Linked DNA regions of Homo sapiens: region 1 is linked to region 2. Evidence: promoter capture Hi-C in 16 types of primary human blood cells and fetal thymus (Javierre and others, 2016). All regions are on one chromosome and are shown on one strand. The core of a region is centred on a gene start or on the middle of the fragment in contact, and the rest is flanking DNA. Distances in the headings are between cores, read along the strand shown.

The links. Contacts are between HindIII fragments. The CHiCAGO score rates a contact against its expected background, and 5 or more counts as called.
Region 1: a fragment that was not itself captured here is called in contact with the fragment with the promoter of FAM124B in region 2 in 1 of 17 cell types (endothelial precursors); the score reaches 6.3 in endothelial precursors.

Annotation. Positions count from the first base shown.
Region 1 is chr2:224,450,842-224,455,637 of GRCh38, forward strand. No RefSeq gene overlaps it. Among named protein-coding and RNA genes, the nearest start is that of FAM124B, 51 kb to the left of the region's middle. The HindIII fragment of the contact is 7,871 bases long and covers 1-4,796 here.
Region 2 is chr2:224,399,956-224,404,801 of GRCh38, forward strand. It overlaps FAM124B (family with sequence similarity 124 member B), which reads right to left and starts at 2,152. Exons shown (of 2, transcript NM_001122779.2): 1 at 1,082-2,152. The coding sequence starts at 1,813. The HindIII fragment of the contact is 5,745 bases long and covers 1-4,359 here.

The sequences.
Region 1 (4,796 bases), core at 620-3,119, 51 kb after region 2:
TATTTTTAGTAGAGACGGGGTTTCACCATGTTGACCAGGATTACCTCGATCTCTTGACCTCATGATCCACCCGCCTTGGCCTCCCAAAGTACTGGGATTACAGGTGTGAGCCACCACGCCCGGCCCATTTCTTTTAACCACTGTATTTTTGGGTCTTAACTGTGCCACTCAAGACAATCAGACTGCTCTTCTCATGGGAAGGGCGTCCTGTTCTCAACCCTTGGCCTTCCCCATGTCTCACATGAATGTGAAGAAGTGGAGTGTGGCATCCCCAGGCAGATCTCCAATTCCATTTTCAAAGTCATCATAGATGGATTTCTTGGTTCTCATCTCTCCTTCGCACTCTCTTCCCTTAATACACTATTGTTCTCTCTTATCTGGTTCCTCTTACAGCCACTCAAGCTCCTGACAAAACTTTATGGTAGCATAAGAAACTTGAGGAATATGTGTGTGTGTGTGTGTGCATATATATATACACATATGTATACACACAAATACATATATATATACATATTTGCATATATGTTTAATGACATGAAATAATTGTCTAAAAGCAATCATAAAATTTAAAATAAAATATTAATACACAAATCCTTGGCTGAGCACAGTGGGTCACGCCTATAATCCCAGCACTTTAGGAGGCCAAGGCAGGCAGATCACTTGAGGTCAGGAGTTGGAGACGAGCCTGGCCAACATGGTGAAACCTCCTCTCTACCAAAAACACAAAAATTAGCCAGGGGTGGTGGCACGTGCCTGTAGTTCCAGCTACTTGGGAGGCTGAGGCAGGAGAATCACTTGAACCCGGAAGGCAGAGGTTGCAGTGAGCCAAGATCGCGCCACTGCACTCCAGCCTGGGCAACACAGAGAGACTCCATCTCAAAAAACATAACTAACTAACTAACTAACTAACTAAATAATTATATGGGACAATAACTCAAAAATACCACCATTTAAAAAAATCACATATACATACAAACTCTAACGTGTATAAATGCTGCCCATCCGTGACATTTACATACAAATTTTAATAGCTGTCTAAGGCAGTGTTTTCAAATTTTAGTGTGCAATAGAATACTTTGTGGATATTGTTAAATTTAAATATTCCCAGGCCCACCATTCAGAGATTCTGATTCAGTGGTGTGGGAAGAAGTCCAGACATCAGGGTGTTTTTAGCAAGCATCACAGATAATTTTGAGAAAAGTAGCTCATGAATGACACTTCGAGAAACACTACCATGAGAAATATTTTTTCCCCAAATAAAGCAGCCCCTTTCCTGTTTCTATATTTATGAATGATGAGATTATTCTATAAGTAAAATTGTGAAATAGAACATGTTAATTTCAAAATCTTCAGTCTCACCTTTTTAAAATTTTTTTAACATAATGTTTGAAGTTTTAGTTTATTTTAAAAGTCAATTTTAATTCTCTTAAATTGGTTTGCATTTATGGTACAGTTTTGTCATTTATGAGAATAAGAGATTTTTTTCCTTCATTTAACATGTTTACTTAATTCTCAGAAATATTTGAGGCTGCATGTTAGAATCCCTTTTTAAAATATGCCAATAAGGAACATGTCTGAACTTACTTTTTAAAGTTTACTGCGTTATTCACTTTCCTTGGCATATCTCCATTAGAGTTAGAATAGGTAATCAAAAACAGTCATTGACCTGATTCTAGGATTTTGACTGGATATAACTTTTTTTTTTTTTTTCTGAGACAGGGTCTCGCTCTGTTGCCCAGGCTGGAGTGCAGTGGCACCATCTCGGCTGTCTGCAACCTCAGGCATGCACCACCACATCCGGCTAATTTTTGTATTTTTAGTAGAGACAGGGTTTCACCATGCTGGCCAGGCTGGTCTCAAACTCCTGACCTCAAGTGATCTGCCCACCATGGCCTTCCAAAGTGCTGGGATAACAGGTGTGAGCCACTGCACCCGGCCCACTCATTATTTTGAAGAGAATATATCCTATGGGCTTCAGGGGAATTTTTAGGAAATCTACCTCTTTTCCTCAAACAATTAATGTCAGAACTTTGATGCAAATTCTCCTTTTCTTAAAACATCTAATCCAGGAGGCTGAGCAAGGCTGATCTTCTACCTGGAAAAGTGGAAGAAGTGAGAGGTCACGAGTCACTTGGACATCACTGTACCACCTAAGGCCCAATGGAGAATGAGTAAGGCTACTATAAACATGGTTTATCTGTGCTATAGGAATGCAAAACATTGTTTGGTGTCAGAATTTGCAAAACATGCTTTATAGCAATTCAAAAATATAACATGTAAGCCTGTAAGACACTGAAGAAACCATCTAAGTCATCTAAGCCCAATGCCTTCATTTTACAGATTGCATAAGTGAAGGCCAAACTTGCAGGAATCCCAAGATCTCATTGAGAATGAGATTGAATCTTAATTATCATTACAAGCCTATGCATTTCTTCCAGAACATAATAAGCATTAAATTGATAAATCAGGTTTCTTGGATTAATTGTGAATGAATTGAAAAAGGTCCTGGATTTTCTAACTCTCAAGTCCAATGTCAAACCCAGAACAAAACAATTTGACACCAGAATGACCTTTGGTATCTCCTGCAGGTAATGTGGACCCTGGTATATTTTAGTTGTTTCAAACAACTGAAAGCTGTGTCTGTTTTCCTGTATCTTTGCCAACACTGAGCAGTGTTAATATTTTTTATATTTATTTAATTATTTATTTATTTGTTTATTTATTTTTTGAGACAGAGTCTCACTCTGTCGGCCAGGCTGGAGTGCAGTGGCACGATCTTGGCTCACTGCAACCTCTGCCTTCTGGGCTCAAGCAATTCTCCTGCCTCAGCCTCCCGAGTAGCTGGGATTACAGGGGTGTGCCACCATGCCTGGCTAATTTTTTTTGTATTTTTGGTAGAGACGGGGTTTCACCATGTTGGCCAGGCTGGTCTTGAGCTCCTGACCTCAAGTAATCCACCCACCTCGGCCTCCCAAAGTGCTGGGATTACAGGCGTGAGCCACCGTGCCCGGCCAATTGTCCTCTTTTATTACTGATATCGAGCAGCTTTTTTCATGTTTGTTGGGAAACTGTCATTCTCCTGTGAATTTGGAATGCACTTCCTTATTGTGTTTTACCTTCCAATGTTACTGTCAAGAATATCATTCATTCTGATACTTGATATTTGTACGAAGCCTTTCACTCTCTGTCAGAAAATTTGTAAGCTCTTTTCTCTGTTCCTAGTGTTATGAAATTTTGTGTCATAATGATAGACTTTGTATTGTGTCTACTTTGAGCACTTGGTAGGCCCGTTCCATGGGAAAAACTCATTTAGCCTTAGGACAAAACTGTTTCTTTGCCTTTCTTCTTCTTCTTTTTTTTTTTTTTTTTTCTATTCTCTCTTTCTGGAATTCCATTTAGATATCTAACATCCTGAGCCAGTTCTCAATCTTTTTTCTCGCATTTCCTCCCTGCTTTCCAGTAAATTTCCTCAACTTGATTTCCCAATTCTTCTATTGAGTCTTTCATTTCTATGATGATATTTTTAATTTCTAAGAGCTCTTAACTCTCTAAATATCTTTTATTTTTAGAGCATCCTGTTCTTGCTTCACTGATACCATATCTTCTGTTAGCCCTCTGAAGATAGTTCTTGCACATTTTCCTTCTCCCTGAAGAGTCTCTCTGTGCTTCTAAGTAAGTTTCTCTATCTTGGTCTCTCATATTTTATGCTTTTGTCATTCGCTGTTACAATAGGCATCCAAAGGCAGATTGGAAGCTCTGAGTGTGAGGTTTGTCGACCACCATCTTCACTTTGCAAAGCTCTGGCTGGGCCATTTCTTTAGGGCATCCCTGATGTAAACATCTCTGTGTCTCTTGTCTTGGGGGAAACCCAGTCCATCTGCCTAGAGGATTCATCTGCCTGGCTGCCAGCATTCTGAGAGCTCTGCTGGGGAAGTGGGCTTCAAGTCTCAGGTTTAATACATCAGCTTTCATTTACCTCTCCATTTTCAGAAAGATATCTTCACCCTCAACTTGTTCTGGTGCCCTCTGTTTTATTCTCTCCAGGAAAACCAACAACTTCAGTCCAAATTTGAAAGTGGAAGAGAGCCAGTTAAAGGCTCTGTGGAGAGCTGGAAAAGATACTGAAGGTCTAACTTCTTAAACAGACTAGCAAATAATCCTCTCTGGTCTTTTCATCCACTTTCATGGCTTCTTGATAGGTCCAATCCTGAGAGTTTGGAAGGCTCTGTAGAGTCAATCAATTGCTGCTTGATTTTCTCCACTGTCCATTGATGAGTCAGCTTTCTAGGAACGTCTCTGCAGATCCTAACTTTCCTTACTGCTTTCTCTTGCCCTCTTTGTCCTTGAGGATTATGCAAAAAGCAAACAAATAAACAACTAAAGACTCCTTTACCCTCATTTTTGTAGAATGTCAATAGGGAGTGGAGATTAAATGCATGTGTCCAATCTGACCTCTTTAACCAACAGTCTCCATTTACTTTCAGATGAACTTGAGAACCAATTTGTTTCTGTCACTGACCTACTCACTCCCACCTAAGGCAAAACTCTTGGTTTTATCCATCACTTCTATTTTCGTTTGCTCACCCATTTGTTTCTAGTTTTAATTTTATTATATCATTTTCTTTTCTTCTGACTTGTTTTGTGGTTGTTTCATTACATGCTTGAATTGAATGCTTAGTCTCTTTCTTATTTAATAATAAAAGCATTGGCCGGGCACTGTGGCTCATGCCTGCAATCCCAGCACTTTGGGAGGCTGAGGCGGGCAGATCATCTGAGGTCAGGAGTTTGAGACCAAC
Region 2 (4,846 bases), core at 902-3,401:
TACAGCTACTAAGTGCCCAGGCTCACATACCATGGAAAGGCAATGCACGGCAGCTATCATGACTAAATACACACATGCTATGTTAGGTTTTCGAGGATGGTTACAAAGGAAGGCTTTAATTTCAAGTTTTTTTAAGAAAGCATTCTATCTAACTTGGTATGTGGTAAAATTTGACAGTGATGCAAGATGCTTAAAAATTAAGTCAATACGAGTTGATGGGTGCAACAAACCAATATGGCACATGTATACCTGTGTAACAAACCTGCACTTTGTGCACATGTACCCCAGAACTTAAAGTATAATAATAAAGAATAAAAATTAAGTCAATAGTACTGCAAACTTAACATCCCTAAACAAGCTCGGCCAACATAGTGAGACCCCGTCTCTAGAAATAAAATAAAATAGCCAGACATGGCGGCACGTGCCTGTAGTCCCAGCTAATCAGGAGGCTAAGGCAGGAGGATCACTTGAACCCAGAAGGTGAAGACCTCAGGGAGCTATGATGGCACCACCGCACTCGAGTCTGGGCAACAGAGGAAGACTCCCATCTCTAAAAAATAAAAAAATTAAAAATTAAAAAAACCATATCTAAACATAAGTATGACTTCAACTTCCTTAAGTCAGATTAGAAGAGCTTGTGACATTCCTGAGCCCAAAGAGTAAACAAAGGATAGGGGTATAGTTGATGGGCATTTAAACGGCAAGCCTGAGAAAGGAGGCCGATTCTTTAATAGGATTCTGATCTTTATAGTAGAATCCTGTCTGATTCTACTATAAAGTACTTGTGTCAGCTGCAAATTCATGGAATCTGAACTTTCTTATCTGTCAGATGAGATTTTATGAGATCAGTGATTCTCAACCCTGTTACAGATTACAGTCATCCAAGAAGCTGTAAAAAAGTTACCTAGGCCTGGATGTTCCCAGAGATTCGGATCAAACTGCCCTGGGGTGGGAATTTATGAAAGACCCTAAGGGACGCTAATATGCAACCAAGTCTGAGAACCACTAGCTTAGGCCCATTCCGATGTAAAATTACACAGCTCCATGAGCCTCTACAAGATCTGAGACAAAACAGAAATACCTGAAGCAGAATCTTGTTGCCATCGTAGTCCTGAGTCTGCCACCTGGTGCTGCTGATAGGCATGCATGGATTGGGTAGCAGAGGCACTAACTGGCCGATCTCTTGAACCTTAAACTGCAGCACCGAAGACTCTTTGGGGTCCACTGACATTCCCGGGGGCAGCTGCTTCAGGGAGAGCTGCAGAGCAAAGCTCTTGGAGGCATAGAGCACGAAGAAACAAAAATTGCTCTTTTGCAAGGTCGCTTCTCTCTGCAGGATCATCTCGTAGAGTCTGATGGCGTCTTCATAGTTATCAAAACTGCAGTACAGCGTCACCCTCAGGATCTCGGAGCCACAGTGCACCTGCCTCACCCCCCAGATGGGCAGCTGACTGTCCAGGCTGTAGAACTCCTGATTGGCAAAAAAGTAGGGACACAGCCTTCCCCGAGTGTCCTGGGTGGGGTAGCACTGCCATGGCGAATGCTGGAGAGAGTCCAGGACGCGAAATAGCCTATCCTCTCCCGGGCTTTCGTGCAGGAAGAGCAACACGGACATCCCTGGAAACCGGGACCGCTTGGAATGGGACTTTTCACAGTATTTCACAGGACTGGCCCGTTCAGACACCTGAAAGAGCCGGACCTCTGGGCAAATGCAATCCAGGAGCTGGTCCAGAGTCCTCTGCAGAAGGGAGCCGTGCCCAGAGTTGGCAAGAAGATGGACAGTCATGGCCAGAGGCCCCTGTGTCTCATCCATGGAGGAACTGCCTGAGGCTGACAAAGACAGCGTGTGTAGAAGGCCCACTGTTCAAGTTTCTGAAATGAATGAAGAAGCGGCCCAGCCTTCAGCCCGCCTGAAAACCTTCAGCTGCAGCGGCTACTTCTGAGCAGAGCTCTTAACCAGACTAACACGTGCTCCTGGCCACCCGTGGACTTACGGCAAGAGAAGCTCACACCAGCTCGGGTTCAGCAGCCTCCCTCTCCACACAGCAGCAGCGGGGTCACGTCATCCAGCTTGTGCATAATGTAACTGCTTGTGTTTAGCCTTTTCAGGCGTTCCCCAGGGTTTCTGCGTGACCTAAAAACCTATAATCCTGAGAAACACCCAAATGGGCGGCTCTTATAGACACTTAGTACAGGAAATGACCGGCCGAAAAGGAACATGAGTTGGCTCTGTTAGGCTGATAGCAATCTGTTTAGTTGAAAAGACATCCATTTTATCAACTTACAACGGGTTCTCATTTCCTACTTACGGTTTACAGTAGCCTGCTCCACCAATCTGAATACAATGACTTCTTGAAAACAATTCTCAAAACCTGACCCTTTGCCAGTTTTTTTTTTCCTTTGTCTCTTTATTTCATTTTGTTTCTGAACATTTTCTGCTAGGGCACGAAGAGAAGACTTTATCTAAATAATTTTGACTTCACTGAAAATTATTTGCTGTACCGAAAATTCTGAGTGTACTAAAAAGACATTGAGAAAATTAGTCTTCCTTTATTCACGCAAATTCTTTAGAAAGAGTGAGAGCTTTCCTATAATTGCTCATATAATTATAATAATAAATAATTATAATTAACAATTGTAATTATAATTTTTAGTGTCTAATGAGGATCTACTATGTACCAGTCATAAACTGTTCTAATTCTTAAAGTAATTAGTTTTGTTTTGTTTTGGAGATGGAGTCTTGCTCTGTCGCCCAGGCTGGAGTGCAGTGGCGTGATCTTGGCTCACTGCAACTTCCACCTCCCAGGTTCAAGAGATTCCCCTGCCTCAGCCTCCCCAGTACCTGGGATTATAAGTGCGCCAACACGCCCAGCTAATTTTTTTGTATTTTTAGTAGAGACTGGGTTTTGCCATGTTGGCCAGACTGGTCTCGAACTCCTGACCTCAGGTGATCTGCCCGCATTGGCCTCCCAAAGTGCTGGGATTACAGGCATGAGTCACCACACCTGGCCCTTAATGTAAATTAATTTAATCTTGCAACAAACCTATGAAGAAGAGATTACTAGCCCCAAATTACAGATGAAGAAACTGGGGCATAGAAAGGCTAGGTAACTTGCCCAAGGTCTCACAGCTAAGAAGTAGCTGAAGGATGATTTGAACCCAGGAACTTGCTGCACTGCCTCTCTGGGGCCTTGAAGTCCCAGCCTGGGTATTCTTCTTGTAAGGAAAAGATATAAAAGCAAGTTCTGGTTAAGGATCTAGATTTGCAGACTCTTGAGCTGTTGAATCTTAAACGGAATAATCTTCAATGAGAAAGTTGTCAAGCTCTAAACACTCACCCTAAATGTGTTCTAAATATTGATTTAAAAATTATTTGTGGCCACGCATAGTCGTCACGCCTTGATCCTAGTACTTTGGGAGGCCGAGGCGGGTGGATCACCTGAGGTCAGGAGTTCGAGACCAGCCTAGGCAACATGGCAAAACCCCGTCTGTACTAAAAACACAAAAATTAGCCGGGCAAAGTGGAGCATGCCTGTAATCCCAGCTACTCAGGAGGCTGAGGCACAAGAATCACTTGAATCCAGCAAGTGGAGGTTGCAGATCGCACTACTGCACTCCAGCCTGGGTGATAGAGCAAGACTCCGTCTCAGAAAATAAAAAATAATAAAAATAAATAAATAAATAAATATTTTTAAAAAATCATTTGCTCTCCTGATAGCTGTGCTCCTCAACAGGTATGAACAAGCACTTTTTCTAAACACAATTCTTTTTAAAAGAGGCAATTGGACCAGGCGAAGTGGCTCACAACTGTAATTTCAACACTTTGGGAGGCCAAAGCAGGACAATCGCTTGAGCCCAGGAGTTCCAGGCTGTGCTGACCTAAATTCATGCCACTGCACTCCAGCCTGGACAACAGAGCAAGACCCTGTCTCAAAGAAAAAAAATGTACTTCAAAAAGAGCTGTAAAAAATTAAAATAAAAGAGGCAAATTTATGAATCCTTATAATGAAACACAGTGTGACAATTTTTTACATTAAAAAATACTTTTGTGATGAAAAATATAACAACTTTATATATCTGGATTCCTTTAATAGTATAACAACCTAATTTAAAGTAAAATATTATTATCCAAGAAAAGGAGTTATTTCTATTCAGATTCACTATGTAAATCTAACGTACAATTCTAATCATTTGTGTTTCATAATTCCTGTACTTTTTGCATGGGAAAAATACATAAATACAATTTATAACAGAGGAATTGTTTCCTAGTTATTGTGAGCAGCTCAGTAATTAAATTCATCTTGTTTCAACTTTTAAAAAAATCATTAGAGGTTTTTTTTTTTGGCATTACAAATCTCAAGCTTTTTTAAAAAAAACTCGACAGCATTCATGTTATGCATTGGCATTGGAAGCAGATAACTATCTCATCTCTCAGTGTGAACACTCTCCCTTCCGCAACCCTTCCATTCACAGAGCTGATTGTACTTTAGACAAAACTATAGTTTTTGAAATAGGCTTTGAAATTCTGGAAATAACTCTAAAGATTTGAGGAGAAAAATTGTTCCCCTGAAACCACGATATTAACTCACAACATTTTGCACAAGGTAAGTATTAAAGCTCTTACATAGGAAAAGATTTTGTTTCTTGATATTATCTTCCATCTAATGCTGAAAATACACTTTTTTCCTGATGAGGTTGTCATTTCTTTCAGGATTGAAAAGATTTCATTAATCTGTTGGCAGCCAAAGTGCCAACAAATCCAAGGGGCAGGAGGCCAGGGAAGAGGGGGACCAGCCTCATTTCTGACTGGCTGTCTCTGTGATTATTTCCCCAGGAACAACGTGAA